3 separate regions of the Homo sapiens genome follow, and all the other regions are linked to region 1. The links are contacts of gene promoters, found by promoter capture Hi-C in blood cells and fetal thymus (Javierre and others, 2016). All regions are on one chromosome and are shown on one strand. Each heading gives the region's core, a stretch centred on a gene start or on the middle of the fragment in contact. The rest is flanking DNA. Distances are from core to core; before and after follow the strand shown. Region 1 holds the start of SRSF10 (serine and arginine rich splicing factor 10). Region 2 holds the start of STPG1 (sperm tail PG-rich repeat containing 1). Region 3 overlaps STPG1 (sperm tail PG-rich repeat containing 1).

Region 1 (4,786 bases), core at 956-3,455:
TATTTTTTCTTTTCCCAAACTCTCCCTTCTCTTCAAGCCTGATCCTTAAGAGGTCTTTGGCTTGTCTACTTGCCTTAAGTGTTGAACTCTACTCTAAAGGTTCTTTCATGCTTTCTCTTTGGGGTCGCCATAACTGTACAGCTTTACATTCTCTGAGGTAACAACAGAGGACAGCAAATTAGGGGACAATATTAAAGAAGTTTACCTCATTGTTATACAATTTGTTTTTGATCAAGTGATTCAAATTAACAAACAAGAATACCAAATTTTAATTGCTAAGCACAAGAACATATTAACTTTTAAAGGACTTACATTAAAGGTAGTAGCAACCAGAGTGCATTCAAATTTAAATCACATATATAATCATCGATATGAGTTTCAGAAGCATGAATGGGAATTTATATATTTTACCATTTTTGGATTAACTTTAATAACGAGAGCAATGTGTGAGTCAGAATTAATTTTCAAAAATTTGAAGACAGACATTTATTAGAGGACAAAAAGAACTACTTTTTAGATGTTACCACTTACATAAACTTGAATTTCAAACTTCAACACCCCTCACTAATCAGCCATCTGAAGAAAGGATATTGAACATAAGCAAATCCTCTTGGACGGCGAGTGTAGAAATCAAGTGGAACATACACATCAACTATAGGACCATAACGACCAAATTCACGCCGCAAGTCTTCAGACCTAAAACATCATAAAAAGACCTCAAATTTTTATGTCCAAGTCCTTAAGATGTATAGGCAATATATCTTTTTGATGAAGGAAAGCTAGGATCCAAGAATTTGGAAGATAAAAATGCAGTTTACATTAACAGGACAACAGCAGACATATGTATGGTACAAGGGAATGACCACAACTTATTTTTATCTACAGCCGTCATTTTTCATAAAAGGTACAGCAGCATTAGGTTGTATATAAGCCTTGTTTTTTTTTTTTTTTTTACTTTTACAGCATCAAATCGACTCTAGCACTCTGAAAAATACCAAGCACTTATTTTTACTCCCCAATTTTAGCGACAGATTTACACACTTAACAGTAGATAAATATGGTCTGAAAAAGTCACAAATATCGAACTTCTTAAATAGTTAAGTGTCAAGATGACGTAAAGAGAAAATTTCTCTAGATGCTAACGTAACTATTAGAAATTATGGAAAGAATTATTTATGGAAAGAATTATTGCTTTCTTTCCTTCTTAAATTTAAGACAAAAGCAAATCACAAAGCTAGCAAAAAACCCCCACGAAACACCAAAAACCCAAACCACTTATTTTCTGTGTGTAGATTCATTATTTGTGAAATAAAAAGCCTCATCTTGTAGTAAGAACTCTTCCAAAATAATCTGAAGGCAACTCGAAACAAGGGAATGGTGAGAACAAAGCCTATTTAAGGTACGTCTGAATTAATCTAACTTAGCTGTCAACGTCCTAATGACTGACGCTTCCCAAACCTCCCTTTTCAAAGGGTGACCAGAATTTCCAGGAAATAAGAAAAACTACTCGCAACATTTAACTGGAAAAATCTAACTCCCCAAATCTCAACGCTCCCTTTCTCCAAACACCTCCAACTGATTAAAACCCCCAAATATTAACAACGGCAACAACAACAAAGATAAATGGTAGCAACATTCCTCTCCCTCGATCCCGTTATTTCATCTCACTATTTTTTGGCTGGGGAAAAAAAAAAATCTCTGGGCCAAGGGGGCGTGAACCTCGAAGAATGTGAACTTCAAATCAATGGGGGGCGGCCGTCGGGTCGCGGAAAGGCCGCGGCGGGGGGCTGCTCGCGCCGGCAGGAAGCAGGGAGAAAGGGGCTGCAAACTGCGGAGGGGGAGGGGGACCGAAAAACCCCGCCACGCGGCCCGGCGAAGGCAGAGGCGCCGCCCTCGCTCCCACGCGGCGGCTGAGGCCCGCTGCGCGGCCTAGTTCGGCGCCAAAGCGGGCGCGGGACCCGCCATCTTCACTCCGTCCCCTCCCCCGGCCCAGTGCCGCCACCACCAGGGTCCTCTCCAGGCGCCTGCGGCCTCCCCGCCTAGGCCCGGAGTACCTGCCTTGTACCTACCTGGTGTCGTCGGCCACGTTCCTGACGAACAGAGACGTGTTGGGGGGACGCAGGTAGCGGGACATGGCGGCGGCGTGTCTCGGCCGGGCGCACTAACGGGCTCAGCAAACCGTCCGCGGCTCAGGCGGCCGAGCCTCAGACACACACAGCTAGAGGGCTCTGCTACGGCAACCGACTCTTCTCGCGAGACTTCACTCCCGCCTCCACTTCCCCCTCCTACCTCCGCGCAAAGTCGGGCGCAACGGTTCTTTCCCGCGAGAACACCAGGCGTCCGCCTGCGCATGCGGAGGGCTGGCGCACGCGCCTCAGCGTCGGTGTCATTCGTTGGCTTCTTGCGGTGCCTCTTACCCTCCCCCAAGCCTGTTCTTTCTTTCTTTAGGTCTTCATTTCCCGCCGTTTTCTACCTTACACTCCACTTCATCTCCACCCCCAAATCAGGAAGCAGATGTTTTAGTCTCTAGGCCAAACTTTGCGGTTACTACTAAATGGACAGATTTTTAAACTATTTAGTTCAGAGAGGCTGCCTTAAATTTCCCGGTTGGTCCAAGTTAATGTCCTGCTTTTATTTTGCCTTAAATTTCCCGTTTGGTCCAGGTTATGCCCTGACCTGCGAAAGAAGGATTTACAGCTTGTATTGAGTGTGTAAAGGAAGGAGGTGTGTGCCCTTGCGCAGAGCTGGGCCTGTCTCTCCAGTGTTTTCAGCCTGCCTTTGCCCCTCACCCACACCCTAGCCATCTCCACTTAGTCACGCATTTGGCTCCCAACCTGGGTGGGACCAAACCTCACACTGTAGGTTCATGACTGTGGTCATTTGTAGTGTATTCTTTGTTGCTGACGGCTTCCTGGGTATGCATCGGACCTGTATTGCAGCAGTTCTCAAACTTTTTGGTCTCAGAACGCCTTTATATTCTTGTGTATTACGGAAGATTCCAAAGAGCTTTTTTTAAAAAAAGTGTGGGTTATACCTATTAATAAATAGTTAATGAGAACTTAAAATAGAGGAAACTTCGGCTGGGCTCGGTGGCTCACGCCTGTAATCCCTCCCTGTACTTTGGGAGGCCGAGGCGGGCAGATCACGAGGTCAAGAGTTTGAGACCAGCCTGACCAACACAGTGAAACCCCATCTCTACTAAAAATACAAAAATTAGCCAGGCGTAGTGGCGCGCGCCTGTAATCCCAGCTACTTGGGAGGCTGGGGCAGAAGAATCGCTTGAACTCGGGAGGCAGAGGTTGCAGTGAGCCGAGATTGCACCACTGCATTCCAGCCTGGGCGACAGGGTGAGACTCCGTCTCAAAAAAGAAAAAAAAAAAAAATAGAGAAAACTTTGACACACTCCACTACCCTTTATCACACATCATGTACCCTCTGGAAAACTCCACGTTTGTAAGAGAATGAGCATGAAAATAGCAAATAATCTTTAGTATGGTTTTGATTTTGGAGGCCCTTTTGAGAGCCATTTCCTGCTCGATAAGAGTCAACTTCTGGAGATGAGAGACTTCAGTTGGAATGCCTCCAGCGTGTGGCACAGTGCCAAGCAGGTAGCAGGGACTCAAGTACTGTTAAATTAAATGAACTTTTATTTAATAAAAAGTCATAAAGGCATTATTTTTGTGTCAATCAGCATCTAAGACAATTAAGTGATTCGATACAGGTGATGATAGTTTGTAGCACTCTGTAGCAGAGCTATTCTAAATTTTTGTTTCCCAAGATTTGCATGCTTAATTTATTAAAATGTTGGGCCAGGCAAGGTGGCCCCAAAATCCCAGCATTTTGGGAGGGTGATGTGAAAAACAAAACAAAACAAAAAAAAGTTTGATTCCCTGTTATGTGTCAGACATTGTGCTAGAAGCTTGAAATTCAGTAATGAAAAACATACAGCTTATATTTCTAGGGCGATGGCAATGAGAAAATAAAGTAAATGCAGGTTTGTTATATGAAAGAAACAGTAATGTGATAGGTTTTTTCTTGTTTTTGATTTTTACTTATTTTTATTTTATTTTATTTTTTGAGATGTAGTCTTGCTCTGTTGACCAGGCGTGAATGCAGTGGCTGGATCTTGGCTTACTGCAGCCTCCGCCTCCTGGGTTCAAGCGATTCACCTACGTCAGCCTCCCGAGTAGCTGGGACTACAGGCTCCTGCCACCATGCCTGGCTAATTTTTCTGTTTTCAGTAGAGATGGGTTTTCACCATGTTGGCCAGGCTGGTCTCAAACTCCTGACCTAATTGATCCGCCTGCCTTGGCCTTCCAAAGTGCTGAAATTACAGGTGTGAGCCACTGTGCCCCCGGCCTTGTTTTTAATTTTTAAAACAGGTTTGCCTAGGAAGGCCTTGCTGAGCAAGTGTCTCCCCTGCCCCTCTCAGTTAAATACTTTCAGTGGCAAGAAAACAGAGTCCTGCAAATTACCTTAAGTAATGGAGGAAATTTACACTGTCTGGTGCTACTCCAGCCACTCATGTTTAATAGGGTGAAGATTTAGAATGGAGTCTGATGCATAGAAAGTGCCCTAAAATGTTAACAGGATCACAGGGGCCCAGTACAACATGAAAATGCAAGGCCCTTCATTCAATATTTATTAAGAAATTCAAAACGACAATCGCAGAGTACTAAGCCAAGTGCAGGGTCCTTCTGAGCATGGGGCCCATTCCAGTGCACAAGTAGCACGCTCAAGAAGCTGGCCCTGAATGCCAGCAATTATTATTATTCATAATGCCTTG
Region 2 (4,786 bases), core at 1,468-3,967, 430 kb after region 1:
AGTAAGCTATGTTCGTGCCACTGTTCTTCAGCCTGGGTGACAAAGTGAGACCCTGTCTCAAAAAATAACCAAAGCAGCCACTATTCATTTACCACCCCTCAGTGTTATACCATTTTAGTAAGAACCATCTACTGCCCTAGCTTTAATAAAGCTGTTATTAAAAAATGTATTAGTGTTCTGGAATTATGAGTGATTAGAAAAATATTAAGCTTCCTGTTTTACAGTAGTCCACCCTTGTCTGTAGCTTTATTTTCCAGTTTCAGTTACCCATGGTCAATTGTGGTTTGAAAATATTAAATGGAAAATTCCAGAAATAAATAATTCATCAGCTTTAAATTATGCACCATTCTGAGGCATGTGATGAAATCTCCTATCGTCTGACTCCACCCTACCTGGGATGTGAATCATCCTTGTCCAGCACATTCAAGCTGTATTTGCTACCCCACCATTAGTCACTTAGTAGCCATCTCGATTGTCAGATCCACCATCACGTTGTCTCAGTGCTTGTGTTCAAGTAACTCTTACTTTACTTAATAATGGCCCCAAAGCACAAGAGTAGTGATGCCAGCACTTTGGACATGCCAAAGACAAGCTGTAAAGTGCCTCCTTTATGTGAAAAGGTGAAAGTTCTTGACTTAATAAGGCAAGAAAAAAACTGTATTCTGAGGTTGCTAAGATCTACAGTAAGAATAAAACTTCTATCCATCAAATTTCAAAGGGGAAAAAAATTGGTGCTAGTTTTGGTGCTTCACCTCAAACTATAAAAAGCTGTTGCCACAGAGCATGATAAGTGCTTAGTTAAGATGGAAAAAGCATTAAATTTGTGAGTGGAAGATATGAACAGAAACAGTCTGATTGACAGTAATCAGTTTGGGTATTATCCACTGTTTCACTGGCATCTACTGGTGGTCTTGGAACATATCCCCCTTGAATAAGGGAGGACTACTATAATAATAATGTATGTACACTGTCAACATTTAAGAAAATATGATAAATTACAAAAAAACTTTAAACAATCTGCAATCCATGGCCGAGCGCTGTGGCTCACACCTGTAATCCCAGCACTTTGCGAGGCCGAGGTGGGCGGATCATGAGGTCAGGAGATCCAGACCATCCTGGCTAACACAGTGAAACCCCATGTCTACTAAAAATACAAAAATTAGCTGGACATGGTGGCGTGCACCTGTAGTCCCAGCTACTCAGGAGACTGATGCAGGAGAATCGCTTGAACCCAGGAGGTGAAGATTGCAGTGAGCCAAGATCGCGCCACCGCACTCCAGCCTGGGCAACAGAGCGAGACTCCGTCTCAAAACAAACAAACAAACAAATAAAAAACAATCCCCAATCCTACCACCAAAAGACCACACTGTTAATAATGCTTTCCAGTCTTCTCACTGCATACCTGTGAAGGCAGGATGAGAGCAGGTGCAGGACAGATGTGAACAGAGCACTGCCCAGGTGTGCCTCACTGGTCCACCTGTATAACTGTCCATGACAGGATGGCATGGACCTAGAATCTAAGAAAGAGCAGTGAAGATATACCACTTTCCGAATCAACAACATATGTTTAAGCGATTCCTACGTGGGGGCCAGCGCAGCAGTCCAGAGTATCCAGTCCTGGGTTCAAGGTTATGGCCTGCCACTTAATAGCTCTGATTCTCGATGAGTCACTTAAACTTCTGAGCCTATTTCCTCCTCCATAAACTGGGAGTGATAACAGTACCTTCCTCTTAGGCTGATCCATGTGAAGTGGTTAACACTGCCTATCCTGCAGTAGGCTTGTATTAATGTAGGGTTTTAATATACGCACAGGGATATCGTATTAACAACTTAAAATAATAGCTATCATTTATTGAGCCTGCACAGTCCTAAATGCCTTCTATGGAATACCTTATGCAATTTTTATAATAATCCAGTGAGGTATAATCCCCACTTTTTACAGATGAGAAAACTTAAGTTTGGTGGGGGGTTAAGTGACTTGCCCAAAGTCACATTAGAAGAAAAGTGGAATCAGGCTTTGAACTCAGGAAGTCTGACTTCTACTCACTCCTTAACCTCTATAATAACCTCTCAGGCAGCACACACTAAATATTAACTTGCTAAATTTTGACATTTAGCACCCGAGTGGGTATGATTGGTTTGTTATTATTATTTTTAGAAATAGGATCTTGCTGTGTCGTCCACTTGCTAGAGTGCAGTGGTGCAATCATAGCTTACTGCAACCTCAAACTCCTAGGCTCAAGTGATCCTCCCACCTCAGCCTCCAGAGTAGCTAGGACTACAGACACCTGCCACCACACCTGGCTAGTTTTAAAATTTTTTGTAAAGACAATGTCTCACCTATGCTGCCCAGGATGGTCTCGAAATCCTAGCCTCAAGTGATCTTCTCACCTCAGCTTCCCAAAGCACTGGGATTACAGTGAGCCACCGTGCCTTACCTGGTTGGGTTTCTGAAGTTACAATATTGCATATAGTTTTCAAAATATAAAGCAAATAAGGGATGGCTGGGTGGGGGCAAATATTTGACTCTCTTGAATATTCACAGAATGCTAGGTTTCATCAGAACACAGTTTAAAAACTCCTGGGGGAAGTTCACTGTTGGACAGTTCTAATTGCTAGAAAGTTCCTTCCTGTATCAAAGCTGATTCTCTCTCTCTTTTTTTCTTTTTCTATCCGTCCTAATTCCCACCCTTGGAACCAACTCAAAGTAAGTCTCATTTCTCTTCCACATTGGTGATTTTCAAAATGCAAGTCATAGTCTGTAGTCTTTTGTGAAGTTTTAGTTTGTCATATGCGTGTGTGCATGCTGGGTCACAATATAAAATGCATTTACCATGAGTCACAGTCAAAAGGTTTGAAAGCCACTGTTCTATATGACTATTCTGCAAGAATTTGAAGGCAGTTGTCGTGCCCCACCACCTAAAGACTAATCTTCTTCTCCACATGGGACCTCCCTGGCTTTTGCCACATATCTCCTTGCTGCATGGGGAGCTCCTTTCCTCACCGGACCCAGGCATCGTCCTGCAGTCCTGTCACAAAATTCACGAGACTCTCTGCTCAAACCTTCTTAGGGATGACTTCCCTGACCACCCTCTCTTAAGAAGCACCAACCCATCTCTCTCTAGCCCCTTACTCTGCTTTATCTTTTTCAAAGCACTTTTCACTACCCAACATTATATTGTATGTTTATTACTTTATTTGTTTATGATCTTCCCCAGTAGAAAGTTCAACTCTGAATCTTCAGTCTATTTCCTCACATACAGTATTTGCTCAATTGGCCAGGCATGGTGGCCCACACCCGTAATCCCAGCACTTTGAGAGGCTGAGGGGGAAGGATGGCTTGAGACAGAAGTTCAAGACTACCCTGGGCAACATAGCAAGGCCCTGTCTCTACAAAAATAATAATAATAGTATTGAGAATTTTTAAAATTAGTATTTTCTTCATAAATATTGGTGGAATGAATGAATGAATGAATACTAGAGGTAGACACCTTTTAGCAATTGTGTGTACAGCTGTGCTCAGAATATATTTCCAGCGGGAGTTAGATTCTACAAGGACAGCTCACATGATCACAACTATAGGCACAGTTTCATTTTATCATCTCTTGTGTTTTTAAAAAACGTTATATATGCTAAGTATTACAGTTTACATTATACATGTTACTGTACAGGGTATATAAACATGTACTAAACTATGTATACTGTTACTTTAGATAGAATTTTTTTGGATGTCCTGAGTAGTTTCGTCTGTAGGCGATTTTTATCTACTCAGTTATAAGCATCTTGGAAGCAGCTTACATTTTTTCAAAGCACTCTCAGGTAAATAACCCATTCGATAGTCTTCATAGGCTGAGAAAGTGTATCAGGGAGCTGGAAGGAAATTTAGCGGCGGGCTAGTGACCACCAGGTTCCAATCTCACCCTTTTATTTTACAGATGGGTAAATCGAGGCCCAGAGCAGGGAAGTCGTTTGCTGGGGGACACCCCCTGAGCTGGGGTGAACCTATGAGTAGAGATCAGGTCTTTGGCGTCCACCCACTGCCAGGCACTGAAGCCTCCCAACTTTTGCGCACTCGCGGAGCCTGAGCCAGAAGGGTCGGACGCCCACGCCCCTGGCAGGAGCTCGGTGGAGCAGGCAAGCCCCAGTTGTCACCACTTTTCGGGTGGAAACACCGAGGACACGCCCCGACGCAGGGGCAACTCCCATGGTGGCTTCTTCCCGCCCTCGGGGCTCCACCTAGCTCAGCCCTGGAATTCCGCAAGCACCCGGAGGCCGGGGGGTCTCCGCGGGCGTCCCATGCGGAGGACATGGTGCGCCGTGTCCTCTTCCCCACGACCTCAGGGACCGGTCCCCCCGCCGGAACTGCTTCCTACCTGGTCCGGTCCCGGCAGCTGAATCTGGCCAGCCCAACCTCCCGGTCGCTATGGCACCCACAGGCCTAACATTCGCGAGTCCACCTTCCGCCGTCCGCGAGGTAACTCCAGCCAATGGCATCCTCTGTTTCTTTAACGTGAAAAGTTGTTGACCAATCATTAGAGGCGTTTCAAAGTCCGCAGAGAAGCCGGCCGAATTTTAGGGCTTAGGTTAATTACATCAGGGCCTGTAGCGGGGTGGGGAACTAATAAGAGGTTTATCTAGGCCATGCTTCAAAAATCTTGTGATAAACCAAAAGCCTCAGAATTTTGCTCACTCAAAAATCCTGCTTCAAGGAATATACCTAAAAGAATTAACATTCATCCAAGCCCTGTTTCTTTTTTTTTTGAGACAGAGTCTCGCTTTGTCGAGC
Region 3 (4,786 bases), core at 1-2,500, 410 kb after region 1:
AAAACAATGATTGACAAATGTGGAAAACACAAAGGTGTATATTAAAGTTTTATTTTAAATGGTAGAGAAGAGAAACTTGCCTTTTGACAGGAAACAGACACGAAACCGGATTAAAAAAAAAATTCCCCACTTTCTTTCCCTCTCGGCAATTTATCGGACTTCCCCCCTCCAGCTCTTAAATTAGTGAGATGTGGTCACATAAAGTACCTTAAACAGGCTGTCCCGGAGAAAAGGAAGGAGATGATAGTAAAGACATTCTTGCCAGGCAGGAAGGAGACAGCAAAACTATTCTGGGAGCAGCCTGGACGAGGCGCGGTCAGGACAGAGGAAGCGTCCTCACTGCTCCTTGGCCTAGATTCAGACACCAGCATTAGGCCGTTAAAATCCAAAGAGGTTAGGGAAATCCCAGCCTGGGGCTGGCTCTCACTTTTCAGGGCACTGTGCAAGACAGGTGTAAGTTTTCGTTTCTGTTTTGAGCAGACATGGGGTTAAAAAGCAGAAAGGGATCATCTATAGAAACTGAAGTTAAAAGTTCCTTTGTCTAGGCTGCGATGTATACATGCATGTCTGATGTATAAACTCCCCTCCTGCTGAGACTTCCACAACTGCTAGAACTTGGCAGCATCTGTCTGCATAGCAGGTTGATTATAGACTCTAACCTGTAAGTGTAATGGACTCTGACTCCAGTTTTTTGATGTTTGATGGCTGATAGCTCTTCAGCTTCACCACTCCCTCATTCCCTTCTGCCCTACCACTGGGCAAGCGGATGAGAAAGCCCAGAGCTCCCTCCTGTGGCACCAGCTGGAAGTTCAAACCACGCAGACCCCTGCCCTCAGTCCAGCCTCGCTTTCCAACCATAAGAAAACCCCCAAGCCAGGCTCCTTTCCCTGCTCTCTCAAGCCATTATTGGATCAGGTTAGGAAGGCTGTGCTGCTGTCCTCAGAAGGCCTCACTATGTGGGTGATAAGCCTTTTCCTACACTCTTCATGAGCGTGTGTGTGGCACCGTAAGTCTTGACATCCAAACCAAATTTTGGGTGGGGGGGTGCATCCTGACTCTGTAGGCTGTTCACAACAGTAAGCCAAATTATTTTAACATCAGAATCCTAACCTTCAGAGAGGAAATACGCGCAGAAATGGGGGAAAAAAAACAGTCAAGAGAAGGAAAGAAGAAAGTATGTGTTAGCCATGACAGAGGGTGGTTTGTATGGAAACTATCAGTAAGGCTCATTTCTTCATCTCTGAATTTTTTTAAAAAACAATACTCCTTTTCAGAGCAGGAAGCCTGAAGACAACAGGGACCCCTCAAGGGGTACAATCATGAACCAGCTTCACAGTTGAGGAAACTGAGGCTTAGAGGGATTAAGTTACTCATCCGAATCACCCAGCACTTAAGCGGAACAGGTAGGGTGTGAACATGATTTGCCTAATGAGTCCAGGCTCTTGAGCTCTGAGCTGTGCTTCCTCTTCCTGAGCTGGCCTCTAGTAAGTGCTCAATAAACACGATGGGGAGAGGGACACTGAAGCCTAATCTGCCTGGGTGGAGGATGAAGCAAGTAAAAGGAGCTGAATACGTGTTTAAGTAGAAAATATTTGGGGATACCAATATACAGTAAATGTATTCTTCTCCTCCCCTCCCCATTTAAGTAGATGAATGGCTATGTTTTTGGTTTGTTTGCTTTAAGAGAGCTATACAGCAAATCAAAAGGCAGAAGCAGCTGCAAGACTTCCTGGCTTTTGTTTCTAAAAGCCTAAGCCTATAGAACAGCTAAGAGAGTGTGCAGAGGAGGCAGTAAAAAGAGAGTTATTTAAAAAAGGTTAAAGGAAGGACATTCTCCTGGGGAAAGGAGAGGTTTCTGCCTGACTGGAAAGGAGATCCAAGGCTTCTGGCTATAACAGAAATGCATGTGTCAGAGCAGCCCTCTTGATGAAACAATTTAAAAAGTAGAATTTTTGAAAAACACTCTGGATGACTGAACTCCTATTTCTTACCAAAACAGGACTAGATTTGCCCTCCCAGCTGGAAAAAAAAAGTTAAAAATGGGCAAGATATATAAAGCAATCAAGATACTGGACATCAGGCAACAAAGGACAGGGATCCCTGAGAGAAGCAAAGTAAATGAGGTTGGCAATAAGATGGTCCCCAGCTTTCTGCCAGGAGAAAATCTCAAGACCACAGCACAGGAAGAAGGGATCCAGATGGAGCCCCGTGGTCTTCCTGAGTTGAGGAAATAGATCTGGGAGTCCAGAAAGACCAAGACAGCTAAGTTCACAGAGCAGAGTACCAGAGAAGAGAGAGCTACCCAGATGGAGAGCTATGGAGCTCTGCAACGGGGTCCCCTGAGTAAGTTCCTGGGTATTGACCAACACATGGCATGAGAAAACTACCCAGGGCTGGAGAAGGAACCGCCTGGCAGAATTCAAGTGAGCAATCCCTGAGGCTTCCACAGGGCCGGGAATAGCTCCTGTTTTCATGAGTCACAGCGGGAAAACCTCATAATTCATGGAACATAGAGTATGCAGGAGGGTTTCGCCTCAGAAATGGGGCAAAATTACCCCTAGACTAAATACTGCTCTGGTTCCAGCTAACAAAGCTTTAAAGCAGGACCTGAAAAGATCAAACTGTCTCCAAATAATTTAACTGCATCTCAGAACAAAGCACAAGAATATTTATGGGACTACAAAAATAGCACCTAAGAGGTAAAATTCAAAATACCTGGCATTGATAAAAAATTAATAGGAGGAAGAAGGAAAAATATACTTCAAAGTGGGGAGAAAATAAATGATCAAAACCAACTCAGAAATGATACAGATGATAGAATTAGTGGAGAAGAACATTATAACTGCTGCACTAACTGTATTTCATATGTTCAAGAAGCCAGAGAAAAGACTGAACATATTAAGTAGATATGGAAGATATAATGACAAGATCCAAATCGAACTACCAGATGTGAAAACTAAATGTCTGAGATTAAAAATACACTAGATGAGATGAATAGCAAATTAGACATTAGAGGAAAAAAAGATTAGTAAACTTGAAGACCTAGAAATAAAACTATACAAAATAAAACAGAAAAAGGACAAGAAAAAGGATTAGTGAGCTGTGTGGAAACTTTGAGGAGCCTAATATATATGTAATCAGGCTCTCAAAAAAAGAAATATGAGGAGAGAAGAAATAGAAAAAAATAGTTCAAGAAAAAATGGTTGAAATTTTTCCAAATTTGATTAAAAAAACTATTGACTCACAGATTCAAGAAAGTCACTTAACATCAAATACAAGAAACATGAAGAAAATGACACCGTAGGCCAACCATAATCAAATTGCTTAAAAAGTGATAAGAAGAAAATGTTAAAATTGGGCAGAGAAAAAAGACATGTCACATATGAAGAAACAAATACGAGAATGACAGCAGATTGATACTGAAAACAACACCTTTAAGGCAATAAAAGGAAAAAAAAAACCTGTCACCCTAGAATCCTGTACTCAGTAAAAATATCTTCAAAAGCAAAAGCAGAATAAAAACTTTTAAAACTATATAAATATTGAAAGAATCATCAGCAAATGGGAGCTACAAGAAATGTTAAGGGAAGCCCTTCAGGCCAAAGAAAATGATACCAGTAGGAAATCTGAATCACATAAAGGAATGAAGCTCTGGAAATAGTAAATATGTGGGTAAATAGAAAATATAAAATTATGAGTATAAATTGAACAATTTTTTTTTTTTTTTTTTTTTTTAGACGGAGTCTCGTTCTTGCGCCCAGGCTGGAGTGCAATGGCGCTATCTCGGCTCACTGCAAGCTCTGCCTCCCGGGTTCACGCCATTCTCCTGCCTCAGCCTCCCGAGTAGCTGGGACTACAGGCGCCCGCCACCGCGCCCGGCTAATTTTTTGTATTTTTAGTAGAGACGGGGTTTCACCGTGTTAGCCAGGATGGTCTCGATCTCCTGACCTCATGATCTGCCCGCCCCGGCTTCTCAAAGTGCTGGGATTACAGGCATGAGCCACCAAACCCAGCCTTGAATAATTTAAATATAACATTTTAAACATTTAAAAAGTAATGATTACTGGCCGGGTGTGGTAGCCTGTAATCCAGCACTTTGGGAGGCCTCCTCACCAAATTAGCCAGGCATGGTGGCAGGTGCCTGTAATCCCAGCTATTCAGGAGGCTGAATCAGGAGAATTGCTTGAACCCAGGAGGTGTAGGTTACAGTGAGCCAAGACTGCGCCACTGCACCCCAGCCTGAGCGACACAGCAAGGCTCCATCTCAAAAAAAAAAAAATTTATGTAAAGCAAAAATAACAACTGTTTTGTAGGGTTTATACCATATGTACAAGTAAAATGTTTAACAACAATAACATAAAGGCCAGGAAGGGAAAAATAAAAATATACTGTTTTAAGGTTCTTCTACTATATGTGAAGTGTTATAATATCACTTGATGGTAGACCATGATAAGTTAAAGATATATACTATAAACTCTAAAGTATGTAGGGATCAACGAACTTTTTCTAAGGGCCAGATAGTACATATCTGTCTATCTATCTATCCATCTATAGCTATCTATCTATCTATCTATCTATCTATCATCTATCTATCTTATTGATCTATATTTTGAGACAGGGTCTTGCTCTGTTGCCCAGGTTGGAGTGCAGTGGTGCAGTCATAGTTCATTGCAGCCTTGACCTCCTGGGCTTAAGCAATCCTCCTGCCTCAGCCTCCCAAAGTTCTGGGATTGCAAGTGTGAGCCACCATGCCTGGCTAGATAGTAAATATTTTAGTCTTTGCAGT

The links. Contacts are between HindIII fragments. The CHiCAGO score rates a contact against its expected background, and 5 or more counts as called.
Region 2: a contact is called between a fragment that was not itself captured here and the fragment with the promoter of SRSF10 in region 1, in 1 of 17 cell types (M2 macrophages). The highest score is 7.1, in M2 macrophages.
Region 3: a contact is called between a fragment that was not itself captured here and the fragment with the promoter of SRSF10 in region 1, in 1 of 17 cell types (M2 macrophages). The highest score is 5.6, in M2 macrophages.

What each region holds. Positions count from the first base shown.
Region 1 is chr1:23,978,122-23,982,907 of GRCh38, forward strand. It overlaps SRSF10 (serine and arginine rich splicing factor 10), which reads right to left and starts at 2,206. Exons shown (of 6, transcript NM_054016.4): 1 at 2,070-2,206; 2 at 592-696. The coding sequence starts at 2,134. RefSeq lists enhancers at 1,433-2,423, 1,661-1,710, 2,141-2,470, 2,424-3,414, 2,481-2,530. The HindIII fragment of the contact is 15,744 bases long and covers 1-3,917 here.
Region 2 is chr1:24,409,301-24,414,086 of GRCh38, forward strand. It overlaps STPG1 (sperm tail PG-rich repeat containing 1), which reads right to left and starts at 4,482. Exons shown (of 9, transcript NM_001199013.2): 1 at 4,374-4,482. It also overlaps a transcript of NIPAL3 not described here. RefSeq lists an enhancer at 3,978-4,097. The HindIII fragment of the contact is 5,021 bases long and covers 208-4,786 here.
Region 3 is chr1:24,391,717-24,396,502 of GRCh38, forward strand. The region is part of intron 2 of STPG1 (sperm tail PG-rich repeat containing 1); the gene reads right to left. Among named protein-coding and RNA genes, the nearest start is that of STPG1, 20 kb to the right of the region's middle. RefSeq lists an enhancer at 342-591. The HindIII fragment of the contact is 2,681 bases long and covers 1-2,591 here.